6 separate regions of the Homo sapiens genome follow, and all the other regions are linked to region 4. Evidence: promoter capture Hi-C in 16 types of primary human blood cells and fetal thymus (Javierre and others, 2016). All regions are on one chromosome and are shown on one strand. The core of a region is centred on a gene start or on the middle of the fragment in contact, and the rest is flanking DNA. Distances in the headings are between cores, read along the strand shown. Region 1 overlaps IQSEC2 (IQ motif and Sec7 domain ArfGEF 2). Region 2 has its middle 5.3 kb from the start of RRAGB. Region 3 has its middle 41 kb from the start of FAM156A. Region 4 holds the start of GNL3L (G protein nucleolar 3 like). Region 5 holds the start of TSPYL2 (TSPY like 2). Region 6 overlaps KDM5C (lysine demethylase 5C).

Region 1 (2,875 bases), core at 357-2,856, 1.2 Mb before region 4:
GTTGGGGTGGAACATAGATTCAAATCCAGGTCTGTCTGTCTCCAAAGCTCGTTCTTTATGTATCATATCATCGAGCCTCAAAACAAAGACACCCGGGGTAGAGCTGCCCAGCCCAAGGTAATGGGGATATACTAAAGACAGACACAGGTCCACCCTCTTCCATGAAAACAGAAAAACAGGGATGAGAGACCTGGCTGTCAGGCCAGAAACTGCCTCTGAGCTGCCTCAGTTACAGTAAATGAAGCCACGTAAGACAAAAAACAGCAGAAAGAAGGCTGGGCCTGAGCTAGGGGGAGAAAGAGAACAGCACATTTAAGAAAAGATGCACTGGGCGCAGTGGCTCACACCTGTAATCCCAACATTTTGGGAGGCCGAGGTGGGCGGATCACCTGAGGTCGGGAGTTCGAGACTAGCCTGACCAACATGGAGAAACCCTGTCTCTACTAAAAATACAAAATTAGCTGGGTGTGGTGGTGCATGCCTGTAATCCCAGCTACTCGGGAGGCTGAGGCAGGAGAATCCCTTGAACCCAGGAGGCGGAGGTTGCAGTGAGCCGAGATCGCGCCATTGCACTCCAGCCTGGGTGACAGAACGAGAGACTCCATCTCAAAAAAAAAAAAAAGAAAAGAAAAGAAAAGATGCTCTGAATGCTGGCATTCATACTAGGGTGACTCTTCTAATCAGCGTTCTCTTTTCTGCTCACACCCTGACTGGCCTTATACAAGTCCTTTCTCTCTCTGGGCCTCAGTCTTTTCATCTGTAAAATGAATAGCTTCAGTTGGATGATTTGTCAGAGTCCTTCCAACTTGTGATTTCTTGATTTCTATGCTGGTATTATTAAAACCCTACTGGTCATGAACGCTGCCACTCCTCTGAGCTTCCAGAGCAGGCTGCGCTCCCCTCCATCATCATCTTTCTCCCCACATAGGTTATCTCTACTCCCACTGCCCAAGCACAGGCCTGATCATCTCTCATCTAGACTGCTGTACCAGCCTCCTCCCTGGATACCCTCCAATCTATCTTCCAAACTGCCCTCTAGGGGGATCTCTCCAAAACGTGGCTCTTGACATGTTCTCCCACACCACAATAAGCACCTCTCCCCCAGTTTAAAATGCTACTTGGCCAGGCATGGTGGCTCATGCCTGTAATCCTAGTACTTTGGGAGGCCAGGGCAGGTGGCTCACCTGAGGTCAGGAGTTTGAGACCAGCCTGGCCAATATGGCAAAACCCTGTCTCTACTAAAAATACAAAAATTAGCCAGGCATAGTGGCACACGCCTGTAATCCCAGCTACTCGGGAGGCTGAGGCAGGAGAATTGCTTGAACCTGGGGCGGGGAAGAGGCTGCAGTGAGCTGAGATCACGCCACTTCACTCCAGCCTGGGCGAAAGAGCAAAACTCCGTCTCAAAAAAATAAAAACAAAAACAACACAAAAACAAAACAGCAGAAAGCTCCTGACGCTGCTAGTGAAGTGTCCTCAAGATGTGAGCCGGCCAACCCTCCAGACTCCCCTGCGAGTCTCTCTGTTTGTGCTCTAGTTTGTACTGAACTCATAAAAAAACAAAACAAACAAACAAAAAACCTCCCCATACACATATCCTGCTGGGCCCATACCTCTGTGTGTTTGCTCATGCTGGCCCCTCTGCCTTAACCTCCCTTTTGCCCCCAATTCCCACCAACCCACATGCTGTCCTTCTTCACCTAGCTAACTCAAACTCATCCTCCAAGCCTCAGCTCAGGTATCACCTCCTCCAGTAAGCCTTCCCTGACAGTCCAGGGTGATGTCTCTCCTTTGAGCACCTGTGGCCCCCTGTGCTCCCCTCTGGCATGACACACTGGATAGCACACTGCAATCGTCTATTTCCACCACCACCTTCTCCACCCAATTATGAGCACCTTGAAGCCAGGAACTATATACTAATCATAGAATTCTCTGCCTGTGATGGCACAAGGCATGGCACATCCTGGCATGCAATGTTCACTGGACTGACCTCTCTCTCTGAAATGTGGTGAGCTGCCACATGGTTTCTCCTCCTGTCCTCCCACAGCACAGAGCTTTACAGAGTTATTATTAATAATAATGGCTATCGCTGAGTAAACACATACTGTGTGCTCAGCGCTTCACCTACGTCATCTTATTTAATTTTCACAACCATCACAATGAGATGGGTTGTTTATGAATTGGCTGGCATATCAGATATACAGTTGTGAGAGATGCCTCTCAGATTTATAAGAAAATGTGGGGGAAGAGCCAAGTTAGGTACTTTTCATCACAGATATAATGACAATAATTCTAAAGTGGTTATATGAAGGAAAATATTGGTTTTATTCAGGTGAATGCAGTATGCTGTATCCTGGAATCCAGCAGGAAATCACAGGGCCTGGATATGCAGTCCTATCACTCCTTTAAAAAGGTATAAAAATCACATCGCTCCAACGAAATGCACTAGTGAAACATTAGTGAAATGGTACCTATTAGGTGATGATAGTGATACATTTACATCTAAAATGTTGGAGGAATAATCCTGATCAGCCGTGTAGCTCTGGCTTGTCATCTTTGTTTTGAAAGGGATGCGATGCATCGGTCTTTGCATTGTTGTGTGTTTGCCACATTCCGCCTCTAGGGGGCAGGGCAGTCTCATGTATTATTTTCCATTCTCAGCTTTCCAGCCTGATCAGGACCTTGATGTACGGTATGCCAGGCAGCCAGGAAATTTTCTGATACAATTTTTTTGAGGGAGGTAGGGGGCTGGCAACATGAATCTCATGCATCAGAAAATACAGTTTTATTCCTATTTACTACTTGAGAAAACTGAGGCTCTGAAAGTGAAGTGATTTGCCTAGAGTTACACAAAGTCCTTCCATGGCACCACACT
Region 2 (3,207 bases), core at 274-2,773, 1.2 Mb after region 4:
CCAGAAGTCTGACTCATAAGAAATTCTTGCTCTTTTGCCAGCATGCCAGGCTTCTGGGTTTCCTTTCCCTGATTCAACCTAGTGACCCGGCTTCCTGCACCATAGCCCTGGGGGCCAAGCTGCAACACTAAGGAAAATTATCATTTTCTGTTCTGGCCAGAGCAAAATACATATGACAAAACATAGACATTAGCCACTGTGCAATATCAAACTGGCAAGGCCCAAACTTGCCCCTGGTTGGGCCCCATTATCATTAATCCAACCTCTGACCAGGAGTTTCAACTTGTGGTCTCTGGGCAAGATGGTCACCCTGAGTAATAGAAAAGATAGGAAAGAGAAGGGAGAGAAAGAAAAGCATTGCCTGTGGCAGGGTGGGGAAGGTGAAGAACTCAGGGAGGTAAAGCAAAAGACCCACCCCCTGCAGCCACACTGAATCAAAAGTTCAGATGGGCGCTTTTCAGTTGTGAAGGCATATTTTCCAGCAGTCCCATCAGCTCTCAACTTTCTCGTTTTTGGGGAGAAAAAAGCCCCCCATATCCCACTATCCTGTACATGCCTAATCCTGTCACCCACAGCAAAGGGTGCAAGGCAGATTATTCCAAAGATAATAGCAGTTAACATCCTGTAGTGCCAAACTCATTCTTAGCCAAAAGGGAATTTACTGAGAGGAGCCTCTAACCCCCTAAGTCTTAGAAGGGAACCTAATTTTCCTAAGTTGGGCCTCTAACCCAAGGTTGGTCAAGTGTCCTTGCCTTTTATTAAGAGGGGCCTCTAACCCACTCTGTCTTATGAGAGACTTTAACTCCTCTAAATTGGGCCTCTAACCCAATCGCGTCCTTTACCTGGGTACCCCACCACTTACCCAAAATGGGACAATCAGTGCTGCAGTTTATTTCCTTTTGGTCGGGTTGTTTCTTCAGTATTGTCCCTTCGAGGTTTGTCAAAAAGATGTTACTAGACCCCACCACTTACCCAAAGTTAGTCTTTGGGTTAGGTGTTTCTGCAGTATAGTCCCTTTGGTGGTTGTAAGAAAAAATTCAGGACAAGTCCATAAAGTGAAAGCAAGATATTAGGAAAGTAAAGTAATAAAAGAACGGCTACTCCATAGACAGAGCAGTCCCAAGGGGCACTGGTTGCCCATTTTTATGGTTATTTCTTGATGATATGCTAAACAAGGGGTGGATTATTCATGCATCCCCTGTTTAGACCTTATAGAGTAACTTCCTGACATTGCCATGCCATTTGTAAACTGTCATGGTGCTGGTTGGTGTAGCAGTGAGGGCAACCAGAGGTCACTCTCGTCACCATCTTTGTTTTGGTGAGTTTTAACCGGCTTCTTTAATGCCACCTGTTTTATCAGCAAGGTCTTTATGACCTGTATCTTGTGCTGACCTTGTATCTCATCCTGTAACTTAGAATGCCTTAATTGTCTGGGAATGCAGCCCAGCAGGTCTCAGCCTTATTCTACCCAGCCCCTACTAAAGATGGAGTTGCTCTGGTTCAAATACCTCTGACAGTTCAGGTTTTTCTACCTAGGTAATGGCTCCCATGGAGGCTTCTGCTCATGGAATTTTGGTCTGGAAACTTGTCATTATCTGTATTTGCCTCTCTCCCCAATTCTGGCAGCAGCTGTGTGTCCTGTGGCCTCACTTCTCTAAAGGAATTAAGACTAATTGTTGATTTTTCAGTTTGTTCAGTTTTTTACTTATTGTTAACATGGAGTGGTGACTTTTAAGCTCCTTATATGTAGGATTGGAAACTGAAAGTCCCCACATTAAGTTTTCATCAATCAAGTCGTTAAATCTTGTTAAATAGAACATTTTGTGATATTTTAAGCCATGATGTGGGAATGGGGAGAAAAGAGCTGCTAGCAGTATGTAGGAGTAAACTTAAGGAGCTCTGGGAAGTAGCAGTGAGCTATGGAAAAAGAGGAAGAAGGGAAAGGTGGAGGAGGAGAAGGGCAGGCAACTTATGAGTGACAGTTTGAGTATTGGAGACTCAGGAGTATGTTTGCAGATACAGGTAACTAGATTGAATTTAGGGCATAAAATGAAACTTATTAAAGGATTTGTTGGGGGCCTGTATTACTTTTTCTTGCTGAGATGGATGGTTAAAAAAATATATGTGTTGGGATCTAGACAAAGGGAATGCTGATGTTTGTGTGAGTATAGTGGAGCTGAGGTGTTAAGACAGAAGCATCTGACAGGCAGTGGAACCTGAAATAGAGTGATGTTTGTATCCCTGCTGTCCAACACAGTTCCTGGCACCGAAAGGCTGCTCAATAAACATTTGTTGAATGAATGTGTGAGTAATAGAGCTTAGTTCACACTTTCTGAAAAGAACCTATAATTAAATGTTTAAAAATTAATTCAACAAAAATAAAAAGTGACCTCCGCTTCCTATGTATGTAAGGGTTTTTTTTTTTTTAAGAATAAAAATGTGAAAAATAAGCAGCCAAAGGTACCTGGGTAGAAACCAGAATCTGAACTGCTGGACTATATAGTGTCAACAAAGAGTCAAACTCTGGAAAACATTTGATGAGATTTATTCTGAGCCAAATAGGAGTGACCATGGCCTGTGATACAGTCCTCAGGAGATCCTGAAAACAAGTGCCCAAGGTGGCTGCGGTGCAGCTTGGTTTTATACATTTTAGGGAGACAAGGGACTTCAGTCAAATACATGTAAGAAATATATGGGTTTGGCCCAGAAAGGTGGGACAACTCGGAGTGGGGGTGGGAGGGGGGCTTCCAGCTTATAGGTAGATTGAAAAAATTTCTGGTTGACAATTGGTTGAGTTTAAAGACCTAGGATCAATAGAAAGGAATGTTTGGGTTAAGATAAGAGGTTGTGGAGACTAAAGTTTAATCATGCAGGAAGCCTGCAGGTTCAGAAAGAATAGAATGTAAATGCTTCTTATCAGATTTAAAGGTCTGTGTTGATGTTAAAGCTGGAGAAATATAATGAGGCATGTTTGACCCCTACTTCCTGTCATGGCCAGAAAGTCACTCAGGATACATTTTTAAAGAGTGCCCTGGCCGAGGAGAAAGCACATTCAAATGGTTGAGGAACCTTGGTATTTTATTTTTGATTTACAATAGGAATGCACTGCACATTGGCCCTATTCACCATTATTTGGAATCTATGCTTATTTGATTTAGTTTCTCAATCCTTTTCCACTACCTTTCTTCCATTCCCTTCCTTCTACCC
Region 3 (3,061 bases), core at 270-2,769, 1.5 Mb before region 4:
GCTGGTTTTGAACTCCTGGGCTCAAGCCATCTGCCTGCCTCGGCCTCCCAAAAGTGCTGGGATTACAGGCGTGAGCCACCATGCCTGGCCTGAAAAAAATTCTTTCAAGGGGGAAGAAGAGGTAGGAATCTCTACATTTGCTGGTGGACCTCATGCCAATGGATGAATCTGTGGTATTTCCCCACTCTTTACCTCATGCCACCACTTCCACAGGTAACGTGAGGATTGCATTCTCAACATCCATTACCAAGCAGGGTGTGCGACAGAGAGACAGAGAGGCAGACCTCCCACCAGTGAGTCAGTGATGGGGCCCTTGAGGCCCTGGGCAAACCTCTTCCTTTCCCCTTTCCTTGTCATCTCCCATTGACCCCGGCTGTGCCTGAGCCTTTCCCTGTCTCCTCCAGTGAGTCCAAGTTACAGCCAGTTCCTCCCTCTTCATGAGGACTGTGTGAGCACAGGCCCTACCCTCACTTGGCTTCAGCCTCCTCATCTGCAAATGGTGAGCTCCTCATTGGCAATTTGGCAGATTGAGTTAACATGGGTTACATGGGTTTGTCACAGGGGTCGGCCCTGAGCAAGGATGGGGTTAATGTCTGCAGACATTGTCATTAGTATTTGTACCACTGGCTCCTACATGCTACACTGAGGACTTGCCCTCCCTAAGGATAAGGATCCTATGTTTTCATCTCTCTGATACCAGGGCACCTTGTTCTACCCCTGTGAGAGAAAGGACCATCCTGCCTTCCTCACAAAAATATCCTGATATATGAGCAGCTCGGAGACCTAACCTTCTGGACAAAGACCTCCCACAAAAATGTTCAAAGATCTCATGCCTTAGGACAGTGCCCACAAGCAGTTCAGAGACCTCTCACCCTAGACACCAACCACCAAACAGCTCAAAGATGCCACACCTCAGGACACAGACCCCCAACCAGCTCAGAGAATTCCTACCTCAAGGTAACAGCTCACAATAACTCAAGGACCTCACACACCAACCCACAAAGAGCTTACCAGCTACACCCTGGTACACATACCCACAAAGAATCAGCTCAGGGCTGCTGTGTGATGCTGAATCTCTGTGCCATCCAACACTGTTATGGGGAGGCCTTGGATCTTGTAGTTCCCCACAGTCTGCAGTCACCACCGTTGTTGTCATGAGGAAGGCAGGTTCACACCAGGGATGGGGAAGGACCCTCTGGGACTGAGGGGATCAGAGAGTAAGCTCTCATATCTGGCTCCCAGGAATGGCCATCGTCTGACCAACCCTGATCACCTTTGGTCCTGGTGACTTTTGTATCTTGCCCCATGGGGGCTTCAGGGTAAATCCCAGAACACAGTAGGAGACCCCTAGACCCCGTTATCTTTGCCATCTCTCAGCACCCACTGTGGGGAACTGGATCTTGGAGAGAGAGTAGAGGTCCTCCCTTCACACTGCCAATGGCAACCCCCATTATGGCCCTTCTGAGCATTCTGGTCCTTTCTCCCAAACTTCCTCTCCAATTGGCAGCTGCCACACCTCCTCTCTCTCCCCAGCTCCCCACCCTTGTGAGCCACCAGGGCTCCCCTTCCACCACGGACCTCTACCTCCCTACCCCAGCCCTAGTCATGGGGCCTCAGTTATACCCTCTCACGCCCACTTCGGTCCTCTCACCCGGCACCTAGGCCTACCTCAGAGGACCCCCTCAGGACCCTCCCTGCACTTCCTGAAAGTGCAGACCATTTTGCAGGACAGATATCTCTCCTGCCCCCACACAGGTTTCTGTCACAACATCCCTGTTAGGGCAGAACTGGAAATGTCTCCCAGATCCAGATGAAACTCCAGACCCAGACTGAGAGTCCAGGGCAATTCGCCTAGGGCTGGAGGGGGCGGGGTGGGATTCCTGAAGGAGGCGCTGGGGTGAGTGTCACCTCAGGAGATGGGAGGACACTGCCCAGCTGGGTCTGTGAGGACAGAGAAGGGACCCTGGGAGGGACAGGGGCAGCATGAGCGCTGGGAGTGTCCCAACTGCGGTCCTCCGGGAATTGTCATCTGGCCCCAGCTCTGCCCCACCCTGGTTGGAGGGCCCCAGCCAGGGATCTGCCTTCTTGGCGCTCCAGTGTCCTCATCAGCGACAGAGGTGACAGGGCTTTCTTCCAAAGGTGCTAGTGGGGATTAAATGAGATGGCACATAAGAAAGAAGTGCTTGGGACACTGCAAGTCAGATCTGTGATGACCTAAAACTTAGAGCCCTGCGCACTGAGCGCCAGATGACCCCTTGCGAGTGGTCTCACTTAAGCCCTGCCTGTGACTTGGGAAGCATCTTTAGCCTCATACTGAACAACAGTCCAAGTCTTGAAGACTGGATCCCACTGGTCATCCAGTCCTTAAAGCCCAGGCTCCGCTTTACGAACTTCCGCCCATCAGCCACTGTGCCTGACCGTGCGCGAGCGCGAAGACCCAGGGACCCGGCTCTACGAGTGCATCCCGCTGTACTCTGTAAGAGCCGCACTCTCTAGGTGAGCTTCCCAGAGCGGTCCTTGATGCCTTCCTGCCTTGATCGTCCCACAACCGATCGACTGCCCCTTTGCAGGTTCCTAATTTATTCAGATCTGTAGAACGGAGACGGGCGTGGCCAAAAATGGGACTAGAGGGGTCTCCGAGAAGTCGGAGAATGGGTGTCAGCTTGGGCCTGGGTGGAAACCAGGAGGACGGATTGCCGCCTGGGGCGCTCGCCGCCGCGCCCGCCCTACTGTCGAAAGGTGGGGCTGATTTCGTTGGTGGGCGGGGGTGGGCTTTATTGTCCCTCCACACACAGCATTTGTATTCTTACAAAATAGAAGCTCCCTTCCCCTATGGTATCTCGCATAATGGTGTGTTCATTTCCGGTACCCGCAATGGTATGTTACATCCTCCACGCCTCATCCCCAGCTGCACACTCACAGGAGGTGAGATCCAAGAGGGGCCAGCTATTTCATACTTAGGTCCTGTGGATTACTCTAATGGTTCTCAAACTTTAGTGTGCATCAAGAATCACCTAGAGAGCTTGTTAAAACACAGATTGCTGGGCCTCACCTTTCAGAG
Region 4 (2,892 bases), core at 206-2,705:
TAGGTGGAATAAATAGAGATCCAGTTTTATATTTCTTTTCATGGAGAGCCAAATTTCCCAATGCCATCTACTAAACAGCCCATTTCCCATTTTTTGTGGTGCAGGCCTGTAAACTCACCCATTTAACAAACAGTTGTTGAAGCCTGCCTCATACCAGTCTTGTGCTGGGTGTTGTTGAAAGCTTGAAGATACATGGCCCCTGCTCTCAGGGAGTTCACCCTCCTGTGGAGACACAGTCACATAAACAACTACAGTATTGTGATAAGTGCTAGCTTAGCTGTATAGGTAAGGTGCTCTGGGTTTCTAACTCATCTGCGAAAGTCAGAGAAGGTTTCATCGAAGTGACAAGAGTTAGGTCTTAGAGAAACAGAGCAAAATTGCAAATGCAGGGGGAAAGGTGAAAGTGGTCAGGGCTGGTTTCAGGTCCAGAGGAATTTCATGTGTCTCTAGGATGAGAGGTTAGAAGCCCTCCAACGATGTAGAGAGGTAGTGAGTCCTGTTTATGTAAGGGATAAAGGGACAGATGGAGTCATTTTCAGCCCGTCTGTGCTTGAAGTGGAGAAACAAACCCACCCTCGGAGGCACAGAGTTCCACCTACTCTGTGCCCCACCCCAGGGTTTAGGCTTGAGGAAGAGGAGGGGCTGGAATTAAACCATCAAGAAGAAAACATTTGCAGACTAATATTTACTATTTTGTGGGGGAGACCTCACTTCCCAGCCAGCTCCTTGAGATGGCTTCAGAAACCCCTACTTGCCCCACTCCAGAGATATAAATTCATTCCCTTCTGCAGACGCTGCTCCGGGATTGAGGGAAGGATGGAGTAGGAGGGGAAGAAGGCAAAAGGGTGGGAGAGGCTTCTAGTGTGGGAGAGGCTTCTAGTCGTTCTGGCTCCTGCTCCAGCTCGGGTTGGGTATGGCCATAGATCTGAACGTATGCAGAAAAAGCTAGGAGTGCTCAGGGATGGTCTGGGGCTCAAGGACCCGGGAAGGTGGTTGGGAATAGCTAACCAATTCACTTCAGGTGGGGAAATACTCGGCCAGACACGTGACCCAGGCGGCCATTTTCTCACACCCTGCTGTCGCCATCTTCCAGGCAGACAAAGACACCATCCCCCACCCTTGTCTGATTCGGGCGTGGTGACTGCCTGGTTATTGAGATTTGGGAGCACGCATATTTAACCCCAGACAGATGCCCGCAGACAAAATTTTGGCTTGCAAGTAAGGTATATGGCCGCACCAGTCGACCCGCCGCTTCTTCCCGGTCATTTCCCCGTCCTCCTTCTCCCTCCTCCGCTATTTCCTTAACTACGGGGCAGGCAGGAGGCGGGGCCAGCGTGGTCGCGAAGAAGGGACGGGCGGGCGTGAGCTGTCAGTCAGAAGCTCCGCCCCCCCCCCCCCCCCCCCGCGGAGACCGCACGGTGGGCGGAGTCGGGCGCCGCCGGCCTGGGATCCGGAAGTCGGAGCCTAGCTGCGCGAGAGTTTCTGCTCGCTCAACCGAGTTGTCGTGTTGCCCTCGCTTCTCAGATCCCCGCCGGAAGTGTAAGTAAGAAACTTCTCTCCTCTTTTCTCACAATGTGCGCTCACCTAGACGGCCGGGCAGTTAGGATCGTCTATTGGATGTGAAACCAGAGATGCCCGCCAACCTGGAATAGAGAGGTAAACAGCAGGATCCCTTCCAGGGTAGAAGGGACCGGAAGAGGGGCAGGGATCGCGGCACACGTGGAGACGCGCCGAATTGCCTTTTCGCGGAGTGGAGTTTGCCGGGAGAGGGGCATTGCCCCATCCCACCTAGAAAGGTGTAGACCCGGGACACACTGTGTAGAGAGGCACAAACTTCACTTGTGTGGTGAAGCGTTGATCGTCCTCAAGATAGTGAGGCTTCATTCTGCATTCACCTTGTATAGACAGGAGTCGACCCACCAAAGGCATGGGGGACATCCACCCCAACCGTGTAGAGACATCTCCCTCCACCCAGCTGAGCAGCGCAGACTTCTCCCGACTTAAGGCACTTCCTTGGCTTGGCTCTAGACAGCCGTCTCGAGGCACCTCCTCAGGACAGACAGAGGCTTTGATGTATCTGCCCCCATACCAGCATAGAGGAGCTTAGAAACATTTAATATACAGAGGGAGGGCACCTCCTCCCCATACGCGTAGACTCAGAGCCCTCAGTATCGCTCCCCAACTCACCCGTCCCCAAAGTGGTTGCAGTTACAGGCCTCAGCTTATGGACAACTAAGCCAATTGCCCCCTCCTCTTAGGTTAGAGTGAGTCCCCATTGTGGAGAATCAGACCTGATCCCTACTTCCGTAGCCCCCGTTTTACCGAATGTGTAATTTTTCGAAGCACCCAACATGCTTCGAAGCAAACAGGAACAGACCTTAATCCATGAAGAGACAGTCAGGTCTGCCCCTTGAGGGGCCGTGGGGGTAGAGGGGCTCAGATGTGTTCCTCTCCCTTTGAGGTAGACACAGATCATCCCCCTACCTCCCCCTACCTCCCCCAAAGATTTAGAATCACTAAATGTAGCAAGGGAGATACCCCACAGGAGCAGATATGCAGGTCTCCCTCCCTGTAATGTTGAGAGGGAGTGACATCGCTGATTACCTGGCAGTTCAGTGCGTATGGTCTCTCCCCTTTACCCAAGGTAGTGGAGCTCAGATCTGTTTCTCTCCACCCAGGGTAGAATCACAGACGCCCCCACCCCCAAGTATTAGGGCTGATCTATTAATTTATAGCTGCATTGCCAGCCCCCTCCACACACCACCCATGCAGAGAACCAGAGCCCCTATTTCTTTCAGTGTTAGTGTGCCGCTGACTTCAACCAGCATAAAAGATGAAAGTTGTCACAGTCCACCTTCCATAGAAGGGTCCAGAATAGCTCACTGCAGGTAA
Region 5 (3,192 bases), core at 347-2,846, 1.4 Mb before region 4:
CTCCGCGACAAGGCTGCAATGGGCAGTTACCTACACCTCTCTTGAGGGATGCCTAATTTAGGGGAGAGAAAACTGAAGCTCAGAGAGGGGCAGTGATTTGGTTAAGGTTACAAAATGAGGGGCACACCCATGATGTGAATCCCAGCACCAAAGCCAGCCCTCCACCACCATGCCTCACAAAAGACCATCCATCTCTGGTTTAAAAAGAAAAATCTTAAAATACAGCATACACTGGGGAAAGGGAGAGGAAAGGATGGAAAGGGGGAGAAATGAAGAGACAGAAAGTGCTAGAAAATTCTAGCAGATGAGCTGAATCACAATCATTTTTATGACGCAGAGGAAGTTACTTTTTTGTGTGTGTGATTATTATTTGTAGAGCCATTTTGCGGAGATGGAAAACGCCACGTCAAAACCTGGCCCCCAAACCAAACACCCTGGGTGCCTAAATTGCAGGCGCAGGCGGTAGGGCAGCCCGAGCCCCCGAGGAGCTACAGCAGAGTTCACCCAGGGGGCAAACGTGGGGGGTGGGGGAAGGGGCAGAAGTGGAAGGTAGGAAAAGAGGCAGAAGCGGGGGGGCGGGGGGCAGGGGTTGTGTGAGGGAAGGGGCAGAAGTTGGGGGATAGGGGAAGGGCAGAAGCGGAGGGCGGGAGGGTGAGGGAAGGGGCAGAAGTGGGGTTGGGGGGTGAAGGAAGGGGCAGAAGTTGGGGGATAGGGGAAGGGGCAGAAGTGGGGGTGAGGGAAGAGACAGTTGGGGGATGGGGGTCAGAAGCAGGGAATGCGGGAAGGGGCAGAAGGGGGGGTGAGGGAAGGGGCAGAAGCGGGGGAGGAAGGGGCAGAAGCGGGGGGTGAAGGGGCAGAAGCGGGGGTGGGGTGGGGGAAGGGGCCGAAGCGGGGGATGGGGGAAGGGGCAGAAACGGGGGGTGGGGGAAGGGACAGAAACGGGGAGTGGAGGAAGGGGCAGAAGCGGGGATGGAAAAAGGGGCAGCAGTGGGGGATGGGAGAAGGGGCAGAAGCGGGGGTGGGAGAAGGGGCAGGAGCTGGGATGGGGGAAGGGGCAGGACCCGGGATGGGGGAAGGGGCAGAAGCGGGGGTGGGGGAAGGAGCTGAAGGAAATGGGGGAAGGGGCAGATTTTAAAAGTGCGTAGTTGCTGAGGGGAGGGGGGCGGGGGGAACGATAACGAGGCTCTTCCAATTTCATGTGAGCACATCCTGCTCAGCGCCTGCGTTTGTTTTTCGTCTCGTTTTTTGGTCTTCAGAACCACTGGTACTTTTCCCATTGGATAAAACGCTGAGAGGGTGAGGGAGAGGGGCTTCTTCCCCAGCTTTCCTCGCAGCCAATCGCCCTGCAGTTTCCCTCCCGTCGCTGAGGGAGTCAGCCCGTTGATTGGCGGGCCCGAGGGGAGCCAATCGGAAACTGATGATGTGTGGTGTTGGCAAGCGGATTGCGTGAGAGCGGGCAGGGGTCGCGGGAGCGCGATCGCCGCCGCGGCGGCCGGCAGCCAATGGCCAGGCCGAGCGGACCCCTGCGTCAGGAGTGGGCGGGGCTTCGGCGATTGGCGCGGAGGGAGTAGAGCGGGCGCTGTGGGAGGGAACGCCAGAGCGAGGTGGTGAGGAGAGCTGGTTGCGTGAGTCTCCTCAGCTCTGCTTACCGGTGCGACTAGCGGCAGCGACGCGGCTAAAAGCGAAGGGGCGAGTGCGAGTCCCCTGAGCTGTACGAACGCGGTCGCCATGGACCGCCCAGATGAGGGGCCTCCGGCCAAGACCCGCCGCCTGAGCAGCTCCGAGTCTCCACAGCGCGACCCGCCCCCGCCGCCGCCGCCGCCGCCGCTCCTCCGACTGCCGCTGCCTCCACCCCAGCAGCGCCCGAGGCTCCAGGAGGAAACGGAGGCGGCACAGGTGCTGGCCGATATGAGGGGGGTGGGACTGGGCCCCGCGCTGCCCCCGCCGCCTCCCTATGTCATTCTCGAGGAGGGGGGGATCCGCGCATACTTCACGCTCGGTGCTGAGTGTCCCGGCTGGGATTCTACCATCGAGTCGGGGTATGGGGAGGCGCCCCCGCCCACGGAGAGCCTGGAAGCACTCCCCACTCCTGAGGCCTCGGGGGGGAGCCTGGAAATCGATTTTCAGGTTGTACAGTCGAGCAGTTTTGGTGGAGAGGGGGCCCTAGAAACCTGTAGCGCAGTGGGGTGGGCGCCCCAGAGGTTAGTTGACCCGAAGAGCAAGGAAGAGGCGATCATCATAGTGGAGGATGAGGATGAGGATGAGCGGGAGAGTATGAGGAGCAGCAGGAGGCGGCGGCGGCGGCGGAGGAGGAAGCAGAGGAAGGTGAAGAGGGAAAGCAGAGAGAGAAATGCCGAGAGGATGGAGAGCATCCTGCAGGCACTGGAGGATATTCAGCTGGATCTGGAGGCAGTGAACATCAAGGCAGGCAAAGCCTTCCTGCGTCTCAAGCGCAAGTTCATCCAGATGCGAAGACCCTTCCTGGAGCGCAGAGACCTCATCATCCAGCATATCCCAGGCTTCTGGGTCAAAGCAGTATCCTTCTAATCGATACTCCGTAGGTCAGAAGCCCGTGACAGGAAAGGGGAAGGTGGGGGAGGGACAGAAAAGGTAAAGCGGGTGGAGGAGAGCCAGAGGTGGGCATGATCCCCCTATCGGAAGACGGACTAGACTGGGTGGAAGAGGGATGGAAGGAGGAGGGCAAAACAGCAGAGAAGCTGGACTGGAGATGATGAAGGGTGGTGGAGGGGGGGCGGACATAAAAACTGGACCACAGATGGGAAAGGGGGAAGAGGAGGAACATAGCATTAAAAAAAGGATCACAGATGATAAAAAGGGGGAGGGTAGTAAAGGGGCACACAGCAAAAAAATTGGACCAGAGATGGTGAAAGGAGGAGGGGAGGGGCACGTAGAAGATGAACTGACTCAGAGACCTTGAAGAGGGAGGGGAATGGCACACAGCAGAGAAACTGCCCAGAAAGGGTGCTTGAGCCATACAAGGCTCTGTAAACCTAGATTTTTGCTTAAGATACTAGGAGACCCCAATCCTGGCTGGAGTGCCTTGCATTGGAGGGAGGGGGGCTGGAGCCCCTGAAAGATCAAGAGAGGGAGTGTCTAGGTATAGAGAAAAAGGAGTTAAATGAAGGAAAGGGGAGAGTAGACACATACACATACATGTAACATGTTAGGAAC
Region 6 (2,864 bases), core at 215-2,714, 1.3 Mb before region 4:
GAACTCAGAGTTGCTTTTTGGAGACTGAGGGTAGGTGAGCTGCCCCCTCGGCCCTCTCTCAGAAAGGAATAAAAGACAGGATATCTCAGTTTTCCCAACTGTAAAATGAGAATATTACCTCCTCCCTTATAGTTATGAGGGGGGTTAGGGACAATACATATGAAAAAGCTAACAGTGTTTGGCATTACCAACAAATGGCAGTCTAATAGGATCTGCTAAATTACATGCTTCGATGAGCCCAGGGACAGTGTCCATCTTGTTCTCTATTGTATTCCCAGTGCCAAGAATGCCTGGCACATAAGCTTCTGCCTGAAGACATAGCTACAAGGAGCTGGGAACAGTGGTACACACCTGTAGTCCTAGCTACTCCAGAGGCTGAGGTGAGAGGATCACTCAAGCCTAGGAGTTCAAGATTATAGTGCATTATGATCAAGCCTGTGAATAGCCACTGTACTCCAGTCTGGGCGACATAGCAAGACCCTATGCCTCAAAACAAAACAAAACAAAAGATACAGGTATAAAGAGAAAGAAGAGTTCTACTTCTATGAGCAGAGTAAGTCCGGAAAGGAACAAAACAGGCAAGAAGAGCAGACATACAAAAGAGGTTGCACAAACAGATCAAGACCCAGCTCAGCAGCTCAGCTGAGAGGGGAGAAAAAAGCAAGAGTGAAGCCAGAGAGAGGCACACTAATGCTCAGAAGAACTCAGAGAACAAAAGAAGGGATAATGGAACAGGGAACACAGCCTTAGCCAGAAGGAAGGAGAGGACTCCCTCCACCTCAAAGCTCTAAGTTCGAAGAAGGGGAGTACTCACATCAGGCTGCAGTCTCTTGGCCCGCCGGCCATAGCTGTTGAACTTGGAAGGCTGCACAGACTGTCGTAGGGGGATGCTGTGGGGTTTGTATTCCTTGTCCTTCTCCTCATTATCAAATGGACGTGTGTTACACTGCTGGGGACAGGTAAGGGGTAAGGGTCAGGACATGGACTCCAGCCCGCAAAAGCAATAACTTCCCTCTACCCTCACCCAATGGCATCCAAAGCTGTGGTCCACTCACCTGACCCACACCAACAGCCCCTGTTCCACTGGTCTTTAGCACTGACACCAGCACACATTTTGGGAATTCTCAGTACCTTTGCTTGTATCACTCCTCCCTTCCAGTCACTTCCTCCACCAACCATCTCCCCAACTAAATCAGACGCCATCTCTTCCCACACCTTCTAGCCCAAGCTCTCCCTTCTCTGATTTCTCTATCAGTTAAAACTTTGTCACATAACAAATAAGCTAGCCGTACAGATAACTCCAGGACCTCTGACCCTGAGCAGTGTAGAAAGAGAATAAGCATCACTAGGAAAGAGCAGAGTCCAACTCCCAGGTCTCCAGTCCACTAAACCAGTTTCATTAAGAGCAAGTGTGGAAATCTGTGCTGAAGGGTAAAGCCGCACCCTGCCCCACTGTGACATCCTTACCACAAGGTTGGCTCCAGACTGGTACATTTCATAGGGATAAACAATGCGTTCGTAGTGGGAGCGTAGCAAGGAGCCAATATTTTTGCCTGGTGGATAGTTGAGGCGCTGGGCTACCCGAGCCCACCGACGGTCCTTGCAGATAGCTTCATAACCACCTTCCTCCACCACAATCTGAAAAAACAAGTAGGAAAAGACATGGATGTGCCACGTGTATTTATATGTGAGGGAGTAGGCCTGTAGAAAGGGCAAAAGGGCAATGAGGGCAACTCTAGTCCCTCACTTCACTGGGGGCTATCCCCTTATCCCAACCTCAAATTGCAGCAAAAGATTCCAAGATGTTCTGATGACAGCTTGTGTGCTACCAAGCTGTGCCCCTTCCATTGCAGCCTAAAGATCTAATATCCAAACTAAGGGGGCCCCCAGAGTATCAAGGATATTGGGGTTTGGTGGGAGGGGTGCTTGACAAAAACCTGTTCTTACTTTGCTGAGACTGTAGAGGTCCAAGATCCGCCGTTCTACATTGGGAATCTTTAAGGAGGAGCCCTGGATTTCCCAGAATTTGGCAATCTGGTCCAAGTAGTTCAGTTTCACTCTCGTCTGGGCCTGAAGAAGAAATGGCTCAAAGAGGCTGGCCACCCCCTCCCACTGACCACTATCTTTGGGTCCAGTCTTAGGGGAGAACAGAGGAATACAGCACTCCACACTTTCACTACCCAGGGTTTCTCCCAATGAACCGGATCCCAGACTCTAGGCAGTGCTTAGCCCCACCTCACTCTCATTTCTTTCGTTTTTGTTTTTTTGAGACGGTCTTGCTCTGTCGCCCAAGCTGGAATGGAGTGGTGCAATCACGGCTGACTGTAGACTTGACCTCCTGGGCTCAAGTGATCCTCCTGCCTCAGCCTCCTGAGTAGCTGGAACTATAGGCGCACGCCACCACGCCCGGCTAATTTTGTATTTTTTGTAGCAATGAAGTTTCACCATGTTACCAGGCTGGTCTCAAACTCCTAAGCTCAAGCAATCCATCCACTTCGGCCTCCCAAAGAGCTGGGATCACAGGCACAAGCCACTGCACCACTGCACCCAGCCACCTCTCTCTCATTTGTCACCTTCCAGTCAATCAGAGAAGCCCAAGGTCCCAATAGAGAGGGTCACAACTGCCAAAAGCTTTAGATATGTCCTCTAATCTCCCTGACAAGGTCATGTGAGTATTATCATCTCCTATACAGATGAGGAAACAGAGGCTCAGAGGAGTTAGGACACACAGCAAGCATCAAGATATTTTGGTGCCAAATAATTTGAGCTTTGGCTCTCCCTCTGCTACTGATTTGCTATGCTGCCTTGAGCAAATCAGTTCCACTGTGGACTCCTTTTTCCTTTTACTAATAATTATAAAAGGA

Evidence for each region. Contacts are between HindIII fragments. The CHiCAGO score rates a contact against its expected background, and 5 or more counts as called.
Region 1: a contact is called between a fragment that was not itself captured here and the fragment with the promoter of GNL3L in region 4, in 1 of 17 cell types (neutrophils). The highest score is 7.4, in neutrophils.
Region 2: a fragment that was not itself captured here is called in contact with the fragment with the promoter of GNL3L in region 4 in 1 of 17 cell types (neutrophils); the score reaches 7.3 in neutrophils.
Region 3: a contact is called between a fragment that was not itself captured here and the fragment with the promoter of GNL3L in region 4, in 4 of 17 cell types (neutrophils, monocytes, non-activated CD4 T cells and 1 more). The highest score is 14.8, in neutrophils.
Region 5: a contact is called between the fragment with the promoter of TSPYL2 here and the fragment with the promoter of GNL3L in region 4, in 1 of 17 cell types (neutrophils). The highest score is 7.4, in neutrophils.
Region 6: a fragment that was not itself captured here is called in contact with the fragment with the promoter of GNL3L in region 4 in 1 of 17 cell types (neutrophils); the score reaches 9.1 in neutrophils.

The regions. Positions count from the first base shown.
Region 1 is chrX:53,310,514-53,313,388 of GRCh38, forward strand. All of the region lies in intron 1 of IQSEC2 (IQ motif and Sec7 domain ArfGEF 2), which reads right to left. Among named protein-coding and RNA genes, the nearest start is that of IQSEC2, 9.4 kb to the right of the region's middle. The HindIII fragment of the contact is 4,367 bases long and covers 1-2,875 here.
Region 2 is chrX:55,710,895-55,714,101 of GRCh38, forward strand. No RefSeq gene overlaps it. Among named protein-coding and RNA genes, the nearest start is that of RRAGB, 5.3 kb to the right of the region's middle. The HindIII fragment of the contact is 3,713 bases long and covers 1-3,207 here.
Region 3 is chrX:52,998,151-53,001,211 of GRCh38, forward strand. No RefSeq gene overlaps it. Among named protein-coding and RNA genes, the nearest start is that of FAM156A, 41 kb to the left of the region's middle. The HindIII fragment of the contact is 8,235 bases long and covers 1-3,061 here.
Region 4 is chrX:54,528,764-54,531,655 of GRCh38, forward strand. It overlaps GNL3L (G protein nucleolar 3 like), which reads left to right and starts at 1,456. Exons shown (of 16, transcript NM_001184819.2): 1 at 1,456-1,656. RefSeq lists enhancers at 857-1,377, 1,032-1,081, 1,532-1,591, 1,602-1,861. The HindIII fragment of the contact is 4,164 bases long and covers 180-2,892 here.
Region 5 is chrX:53,080,771-53,083,962 of GRCh38, forward strand. TSPYL2 (TSPY like 2) reads left to right here and starts at 1,597. Exons shown (of 7, transcript NM_022117.4): 1 at 1,597-2,535. The coding sequence starts at 1,729. RefSeq lists silencers at 1,462-1,571, 1,842-1,891, 1,922-1,971. The HindIII fragment of the contact is 18,116 bases long and covers 1-3,192 here.
Region 6 is chrX:53,216,329-53,219,192 of GRCh38, forward strand. KDM5C (lysine demethylase 5C) reads right to left here. Exons shown (of 26, transcript NM_004187.5): 3 at 1,948-2,070; 4 at 1,468-1,638; 5 at 815-949. Among named protein-coding and RNA genes, the nearest start is that of KDM5C, 7.4 kb to the right of the region's middle. The HindIII fragment of the contact is 2,329 bases long and covers 301-2,629 here.